Regions from separate parts of the Homo sapiens genome. Here region 1 is linked to region 2. Evidence: promoter capture Hi-C in 16 types of primary human blood cells and fetal thymus (Javierre and others, 2016). All regions are on one chromosome and are shown on one strand. The core of a region is centred on a gene start or on the middle of the fragment in contact, and the rest is flanking DNA. Distances in the headings are between cores, read along the strand shown.

The links. Contacts are between HindIII fragments. The CHiCAGO score rates a contact against its expected background, and 5 or more counts as called.
Region 1: a fragment that was not itself captured here is called in contact with the fragment with the promoter of SS18 in region 2 in 1 of 17 cell types (non-activated CD4 T cells); the score reaches 6.6 in non-activated CD4 T cells.

The regions. Positions count from the first base shown.
Region 1 is chr18:23,443,740-23,447,479 of GRCh38, reverse strand. No RefSeq gene overlaps it. Among named protein-coding and RNA genes, the nearest start is that of SLC35D4, 7.6 kb to the right of the region's middle. The HindIII fragment of the contact is 3,752 bases long and covers 1-3,447 here.
Region 2 is chr18:26,089,267-26,093,316 of GRCh38, reverse strand. SS18 (SS18 subunit of BAF chromatin remodeling complex) reads left to right here and starts at 2,704. Exons shown (of 11, transcript NM_001007559.3): 1 at 2,704-2,816. The coding sequence starts at 2,748. RefSeq lists an enhancer at 2,250-2,369. The HindIII fragment of the contact is 4,894 bases long and covers 200-4,050 here.

The DNA of each region.
Region 1 (3,740 bases), core at 322-2,821, 2.6 Mb after region 2:
CCAGAAGACCCTAAGGTTTTAAATGAGGCAAGAAAGTAGGGATGGCAGGCTGTAAGGACAAGGGAAGTTGATTAATCCCTTGTTATGGGTTTAATGGTTTATGAGTTCCCATGGGTTTTGTGGTTTAACAATTTTAATGGTTGCTTGTTGACAGTTAAGATACATACCTGATGCCACCAACTATGTACTCCTTAAAAAGGAAGATAGAAGGACATGCACAATATTTGCAAATTCTACATTTACAAATGTTGCTAATAGGAAAAATGTGGTTTACCAATAACAGCATTTAGTCCTATGTGATTTAATAGTGAGTCCTTGAATGGGGAAACGGCCATTTTGCTGTCAGGCAGAGTAAGCAATGTTTAGAGGCTTTGGCTCCAGCTCCTACTCCCTGTCTTCTCTGCTGATGAACTCACTGCTGGTTCTCTGTCTTTTTTTTTTTTTTTTTTTTTTTTGAGACGGAGTCTCGCTCTGTCGCCCAGGCAGGAGTGCTGTGGCGCAATCTCGGCTCACTGCAAGCTCCACCTCCCAGGTTCACGCCATTCTCCTGCCTCAGCCTCCCGAGTAGCTGGGACTACAGGCACCCGCCACCACACCCAGCTAATTTTTTTGTATTTTTTTTTTTAGTAGAGATGGGGTTTCACCGTGTTAGCCAGGATGGTCTCGATCTCCTGACCTCGTGATCTGCCTGCCTCGACCTCCCAAAGTACTTGGATGACAGGCGTAACCCACCGCACCCAGCCAAACTCACTGGTTCTCAGCAGGAACAAAACTATTTGAGAATCTGCCCTGTCTAAACACATGAATCAGCAGATTCTTTGGTCTCTAAAGAGAACAGAAATAAGGCTCTTTAGTTTTTAATATTGAAATAAGTCTATTCTGCAAATAGCTGTTTCAGGCAATGAACAACTATCTATTAACTACCTAGGATGCCCCCAGTCCTTTGGGAAAAACAAAGAACTGTGAGATTGCACTTGGAGAGATAACAATAGTCACACAATAACATTAAATAACAATACAACACCTCTATCTCAAAGAGTGCATGATTTATTTCCAAATGACAGCTATAGACACAAACATTTCAGGATTCATTGTGGGGTAGTGAGATCTGGAAAGGCTGCGTGGCACCAAAGTAGGTCATGAACGCTGGGGAGAAGCTGTAACGCTAGTTTGGGTGGAAGAACAGCCTAAGACTAGGCATAGGGGCAGGAAAGCCCATAGTATATTTAGTGACTGCTGAGTAGTTTCATAAGATTATTAGATGAAATGTTACAGATATGGTTCAGTTAGGGTCAGCTGGGACTCAGCAGTTCTTAAGCCTATCTAACCCATTGCCATTTTTAACAACAAAGATTTTGTTTTGCTCCCTTTACTGCATAGTATCTTTTAAAATTGATATATAATGATCGACTATAAGGGATAAACAAAAGGAAAATTATTTTTATTTATTTATTTTGAGACAGAGTCTTGCTGTGTCACCCAGGTTGGAGTGCAGTGGTACAATCATGGCTCACAACAGCCTTGACCTCCTAGGCTCAAGCAATTCTCTTGCTTCAGCCTCCTGAGTAACTGGGAGGTGTGCGCCACCACACCTGGCTACTTTTTTAATTTTTATATTTTGTAGAAACGGGATTTCACCATGTTGCCAAGGCTGGTCTCAAACTCCTAGGCTCAAGTGATCCTCCTGCCTTGGCCTCCCAAAGTCCTGGGATTACAGGTGTGAAGCACTGTGCCTGGCTTCTAGCATCATTTGTTAAAAAGTGCTGTTCTTTGTTCATCGGATTGTCTTGTCAAAAATCAACTGGCCATAAACGTGAGGGGTTTCAGTTCTATTCCATTGGTCTGTATGTGTATCCTTATGCCAGTACCATACTGTCTTGAGTGTAGCTTTGTAATAATCTCTGAAATTAAGAACTATGAATCCTTTAACTTTGTTCTTCTCTTTTAAGATTTTTAGCTATAAAGGGTCTCTTTAATTTCCATATGAATTTTAGGATCAGTTAGTTAATTTCTGCAGAGAAAAATAAACCAGGTAGAATTCTGATTGGGACTGTATTGAATCTGTAGAATCAACTTGGGGATTATTGCCATCTTAATAATATCCAGTTTTCCAATCCATAAGCATGGGATATTTTTCTGCTTAATTTTATTTATTTATTAATTAATTCAATTGGTCTTCTTTAATGCCCTTCAAAAATATTTTGTAGTTTTCAGATAATAAATTTTTCATTTATTTTGCCAATTTTTCATAAGTATTATGCTTTTTATGGTATTTTAAATAAAACTTATTCCTTAGTTTTATTTTCAGATCGTGCATTGCAAGTGTATAGAAATATAATTGATTTTTGTATATTGATCTTGCATTCTGCAACTTGCTGGATTCATCTACTAGTTCTAACAGTTTTTTAGTGTATTCTTTATGGTTTTCTATATGTGAAATTTTGTCTTCTGTATTAGAGATAGTTTTATTTCTTCTTTTGAAATCTGGATGCCTTTTATTTATTTATTTTTCCTTGCCTTGTTGTCCTGGCTAGAGCCTCCAACACAGTGTTGAATAGAAGTGACAAGTTGGTTATTCTAGTCTGGCTTCTGATCTTAGTGAGGAAAGCACTCTTTCATCATTAGCTATGATGTTAGGGTGTGGGTTTTTATAGAAACCTTTTATGATATTGAGGAAGTTCCCTCCTATTTCTAGCTTCTGAATGTTTTGTTTGTTTGTTCGTTTGTTCGAGGTGGAGTCTAGCTCTGTCGCCCAGGCTGGAGTGCAGTGGCGCGATCTCGGCTCACTGCAAGCTCCGCCTCCTGGGTTCACACCATTCTCCTGCCTCAGCCTCCCGAGTAGCTGTAACTACAGGCGCCCGCCACCACGCCCTGCTAATTTTTTTTTTTTTTGTATTTTTAGTAGAGACGGGGTTTCACTGTGTTAGCCAGGATGGTCTCCATCTCCTGACCTCGTGATCCACCTGCCTCGGCCTCCCAAAGTGCTGGGATTACACGCGTGAGCCACCACGCCCGGCCATAGCTTCTGAATGTTTTTATTGCGAAGGGGTGTTGAATCTTGTCAAATGTCTTATCTATGTCTAGGTATCCTTTATTATATCAATATAATAAATTATCCTTTATTAGATATTGTGTATTATATGAACTGGTTTTGTAGGTTAAACCAACGTTGCATTCCTGGGATAAGTCCCATTTGGTCAAGCTGTATATTCTTTTTCATGTTGCTGAATTCCTTCTGCTAGTGTTTGGTTGAAGATTTTTGCATCTATATTCATAGGAGATATTTATATTCTCTCTGTTTTTTAAGGGTGATTTAAGGAGTTTCAAAATGTGTGCTACTGCTTCTGTCATCTTTTGAGAATTCTGCATGTGTGCTATCATAAAAATTTATTATTAAAAAAAGATTTGTGGGGGAAAAATCCCACAAGCCATTGTTTTATCCAAGCTTCCCTCTTTTTTCATTCAATAAACATTTATTGAGCATTTATGAATATATTATCAAAAAAAATAATGGGCGGGGCGCGGTGGCTCACGCCTGTAATTCCAGCACTTTGGGAGGCCGAGGCGGGCGGATCTCCAGGTTAGGAGATCGAGACCATCCTGGCTAACACGGTGAAACCTCGTCTCTACTAAAAAAAAAAATTACAAAAAAATTAGCCGGGCATGATGGCGGGCGCCTGTAGTCCCAGCTACTCGGCAGGCTGAAGCAGGAGAATGCTGTGAACCCGGGAGGCAGAGCT
Region 2 (4,050 bases), core at 1,455-3,954:
TTAAAACTAGTGGTCAGGTGAGATGGGACTTATTATGTTCCCCTAAGTATCCCCTAGCTCAGGACTCTTACATTACAAAGGCCCCAAAATTTTAAGAAAGATCTTCCAGGCTTCAGTCTCAATCTTTCCTCTTTCCGAATTTTCTATTTTTCCAGGTCAGGCTAACTGATTGGATTGATTGGGTTTTAGCAAGGAAGCTTGAGGGTGAAGTAGTTCTTTTTAAGTATCCTCTCTCAAGGAGATCATTTGTATTTCTGGCTGGACTTATAGAACAATGCTTTTCAACTGATTTCATGTGATCAGACACAGAAAATAATGGTATCTTTATGGCATACATGGTGTCACAGAAAAGACTGTGGCTATCCATGCCTGCAGGCTATGGGTTCTCTGGGCCCTACCCTGCTACTCTGAAGAAATAAACATCTCAGGCCAACTGTAACCTGTTTTCAGTGGATTTCCCTTTCTCACCTTTGGGGAGCTGTAATTTAAATAAAGAAGGTAACTAGCTCCAGGTGCCTCCCTGGAATAGAAGCCCCCTTGGACTACTTATTTTTTTGCTGGGATATGGAAATTAGACAAGTGTTCCTACTGGTTCATGTTGCCCTTTGAAGTTTCAGTGCTATCTGCCAAATGCACAGAACTGGAGCAGTAGGACTATTTACGATTCATGTTTCCTATTGAAATACTGTTCTTAGCTACTAAGTACTAAGGTACTTTTGTGTAAAGCATTGAGACATGACTCTGCATGCTAGGTGTTGAGTGCACAGTGATAGTGGTAGACAAGTATTGGTTTCCAAATTTGACAGTTTTCCAATTTGGTGTGATTACCTTAAGTCCAGCTATACCAGAGTGTTTTCTTCAAGGCTTACAATAGTGAAAGATAACAATTAAATTTTTAAGAGTAATTACTGTCAGTAGCAGCATAAACTTTCTTCCCTTTATTCTTATGACAGCTTGAGTCTTCATCCTTTAGGTCCCAGTTTAAATATAATCGGGAAGACTTTTCACACTAACTCATGTAAGTGTTCCTGTCATTCTGTTAGTTCCTCCCCCTTTTTTTTGGCTAGTTTTTCTTGGGACTTTGCATATATACATATTTGTTTGTTTCTGGTCTGTTAGTCCCATTAGTGTATAAGCTCCTTGAGAGGAGGTTCCATGTCCAGCTTATTCACAATCGTACCCTAGGTTTCCAGTATAAAGCCTAACAAACAATGCATTTAATCAATGACATTCTTGACATTTTTGTGAAGAGCATTTATTTGATACTTAATTTTTCTTTTTTTTTTTTTGAGACAGGGTCTTGCTGTGTCACCCAGGGTGGAGTGTGGTGGGGCAGTCATGGCTTACTGCAGTCTCCACCCCCTTGGCTCAAGTGATTCTTCCACCTCAGCCTCCTTAGTAGCTGGAACTACAGGTGCACACCACCATACCCAGCCAATTTTTAAAATTCTTGTAGAGACAGAGGTCTCACTTTGTTGCCCAGGCTGGTCTCAAACTCCTGGCCTCAAGTGATTAAATTTTTAAAATAATGTATTTTTTCTTTATTTTTCCAATTTATATAAAAATGGAAATATTTTTTATTATTCATTAACGTTGGGTAACACTTTATATAAACTTTCCCTTTGTGTTATATGGAAGTCTAAATTTACAGAATACTTTAAAACCCCACGGCAACACAAAACCCACATTTGTCCGTGTTCCTTCCATAATTTGAAAACTTTGCCTTTTTCCCTTACACTGACTTGAAGCCTGGCAGCTTGGGCCTAATTTACAAGGCACTAAGTAAGTACTCTCTTAAAAAACAGAGAGTGAGGATGCCCTGTTTCACAACTTAATTCCAAAAAGCCAAGTCAGACGAAATCGACCCACTTTCCTGCTAAGGGTTTGTCCCAAGAGGCGAGCTCTTCTCTGTCCGCTCCAGCCAAGCTGGCCGATTGCCCCTGAGCACTGGACACAACCTTGGTGTCCCGGTTTCGGGTCAGGGTTACTTTCCAATTGTTAGGCACGACTTTGTGCGTGCGTGCGAGACTGTGGACTCGGAGGTGCGCATTTGGGGCGTAGCCGAGCCATTTAAACCAGCGAATCCGCGTTCACCTTGTCCTTCCACCTCTGCCCTATCTCGGCAGATGCTCCACGGATTTGCACGAACTCCCGAGTCTTGACCTCCCTCCCCTCTCCGGGCTGCCGGGACAACTCGGGGCGGCCACTCTTGCCAGGAGGCGTAAGTAAGGATGAAGTTGGAAAAACTGAACTAGGTCTAGGGCACGCTCTGCAACACAGTCGGGGAGACGCTTCAGAGGGCCGGAGAGGGAGGCAAGTTGCCACGGCGCGAAGGGGGCGGGCCGGCTTGGGCCGCTCGCATTTCCTGTGACAGGGGCTGCCCCAGCCTCTCCTTCTCCCGCGGCGGCGGGACCATTTCCTGAATCGCTGAAGCGGAGGGAGGACTAGGGCGCGACTCTACCATTAGCGCAAAGGGCCAGGGGGTGCCCATAAGGAGAGCTCGGGGGATGCAGGGACGGTCAAGAAAGTTCGGCCAGGGCTAGGGGTCCCCCAGAGTGCGCAGAAGCGAGACATCCCTGGCCAGAGTGCCTCCTTCAGGCCTGCCCCGCCGCCCGTCCGCTTGGCCCCGGAGCATCCCCCCTCCCCGCATTCCCGAGGTGGTTCAGCCCGAGAGGCCGGCGTCTCTCCCCCAGTTTGCCGTTCACCCGGAGCGCTCGGGACTTGCCGATAGTGGTGACGGCGGCAACATGTCTGTGGCTTTCGCGGCCCCGAGGCAGCGAGGCAAGGGGGAGATCACTCCCGCTGCGATTCAGAAGGTGAAACCGCGCGGGGTTGCGGATGCCAGGCCCTTACCGCCTCTGGGAGAGACAGACGCGGGGGGAAGGGCCGGGCCCGGAGTCGACCGGGCCGAGGCGGAGGCGGGCCTGCTGGGAATCAGCAGTGTTTGGGAACACGGACTGCTGGCTGTGCCTGAGTGGGTGGCGGAAGAGGGTGAACCGGTTTTTCTCGGAGTCTTTCACGCATTTACGCGTTTTTCTACAGACACAAAAGCCCAAACAGCCGCCGCCTGATTTCTCTAGGGATGGGGCGGCGTTCGGGCTGCGGGGCGCGTGCGCCCGGCGGCGGCCGCTCAGGGAAGGGCGTGTGTCGGACCGGCGGCCCCGCGCGTTGCTCCGGAGTTACTTTGGCGTCGCCCCGCCCCGCGTGCCGCGGCTGCTTCGTGCGGACCCCACCGCGGGTCGCGGCAGGCAGAGGGGAAGTCGGTGCGCTGGTCGCCGCCCTGCAAACTCAGCCGAGTTTGGGAGCTCGCAGGAGGACTTGGGGAACGCTGGAGGGAACCTTAGTATAGAGTTTGAGGAGCGGGCAAGGAAGGTCCCCATGGACTCTGGGGTTGTCCCCAGAGCCTCTTCTTCCCTTCTGCATCGCCGCCTATTCATTTATTCTGCAGCAAATATTTATTGAGCGCCTATTTTAGGCGCTGAGGCTACTGTGGTGAGTCATGGTCCTTGCCTTCCTGGAGCTTACAGTCTAATGGTGGAGACTGTCGTGACCAGTTAATGTAAGTCGTGATAAATACACAGGGAGCTGCCTCCTTTTTAAAGGATAGAGCTGCTGCAGTCGCTGCTGTGTTACTGCCAGTCGGAACACAAAGGTTCTTTATTGTCCTCTACCCCTTGTTGCCTGCAAGCAAGGCAGCATTCTAAATTTTACTGACCTAGACTTTCAGAAGTTGCTGCTGTATTTAGCAGTTTACTTTAAATATTTTTGTTTTGTTTTATGCTGTGTAGCAAAGATCAAAATAGAAAAAAAGGTCAAGTTTTAGTACCACTCAGACCACGTAGATTATGCTAATCGGTTTCTGTTTACTGTCAGGTTCTTCGTAGTGTGGCTTTTGACATTTGCCCAACTGTTGCTTTATTTTATGAACAAACGGGCTTGGCAGTGCCTGGAAATGCAGTGCTTTCATATAGTGCTCTGAGTTAAGTCTGCAGCCTGGCAAACAGCTCCAAGTACGCACTCACGCAAAACTGCGTTTCTGGAGGGCTCACC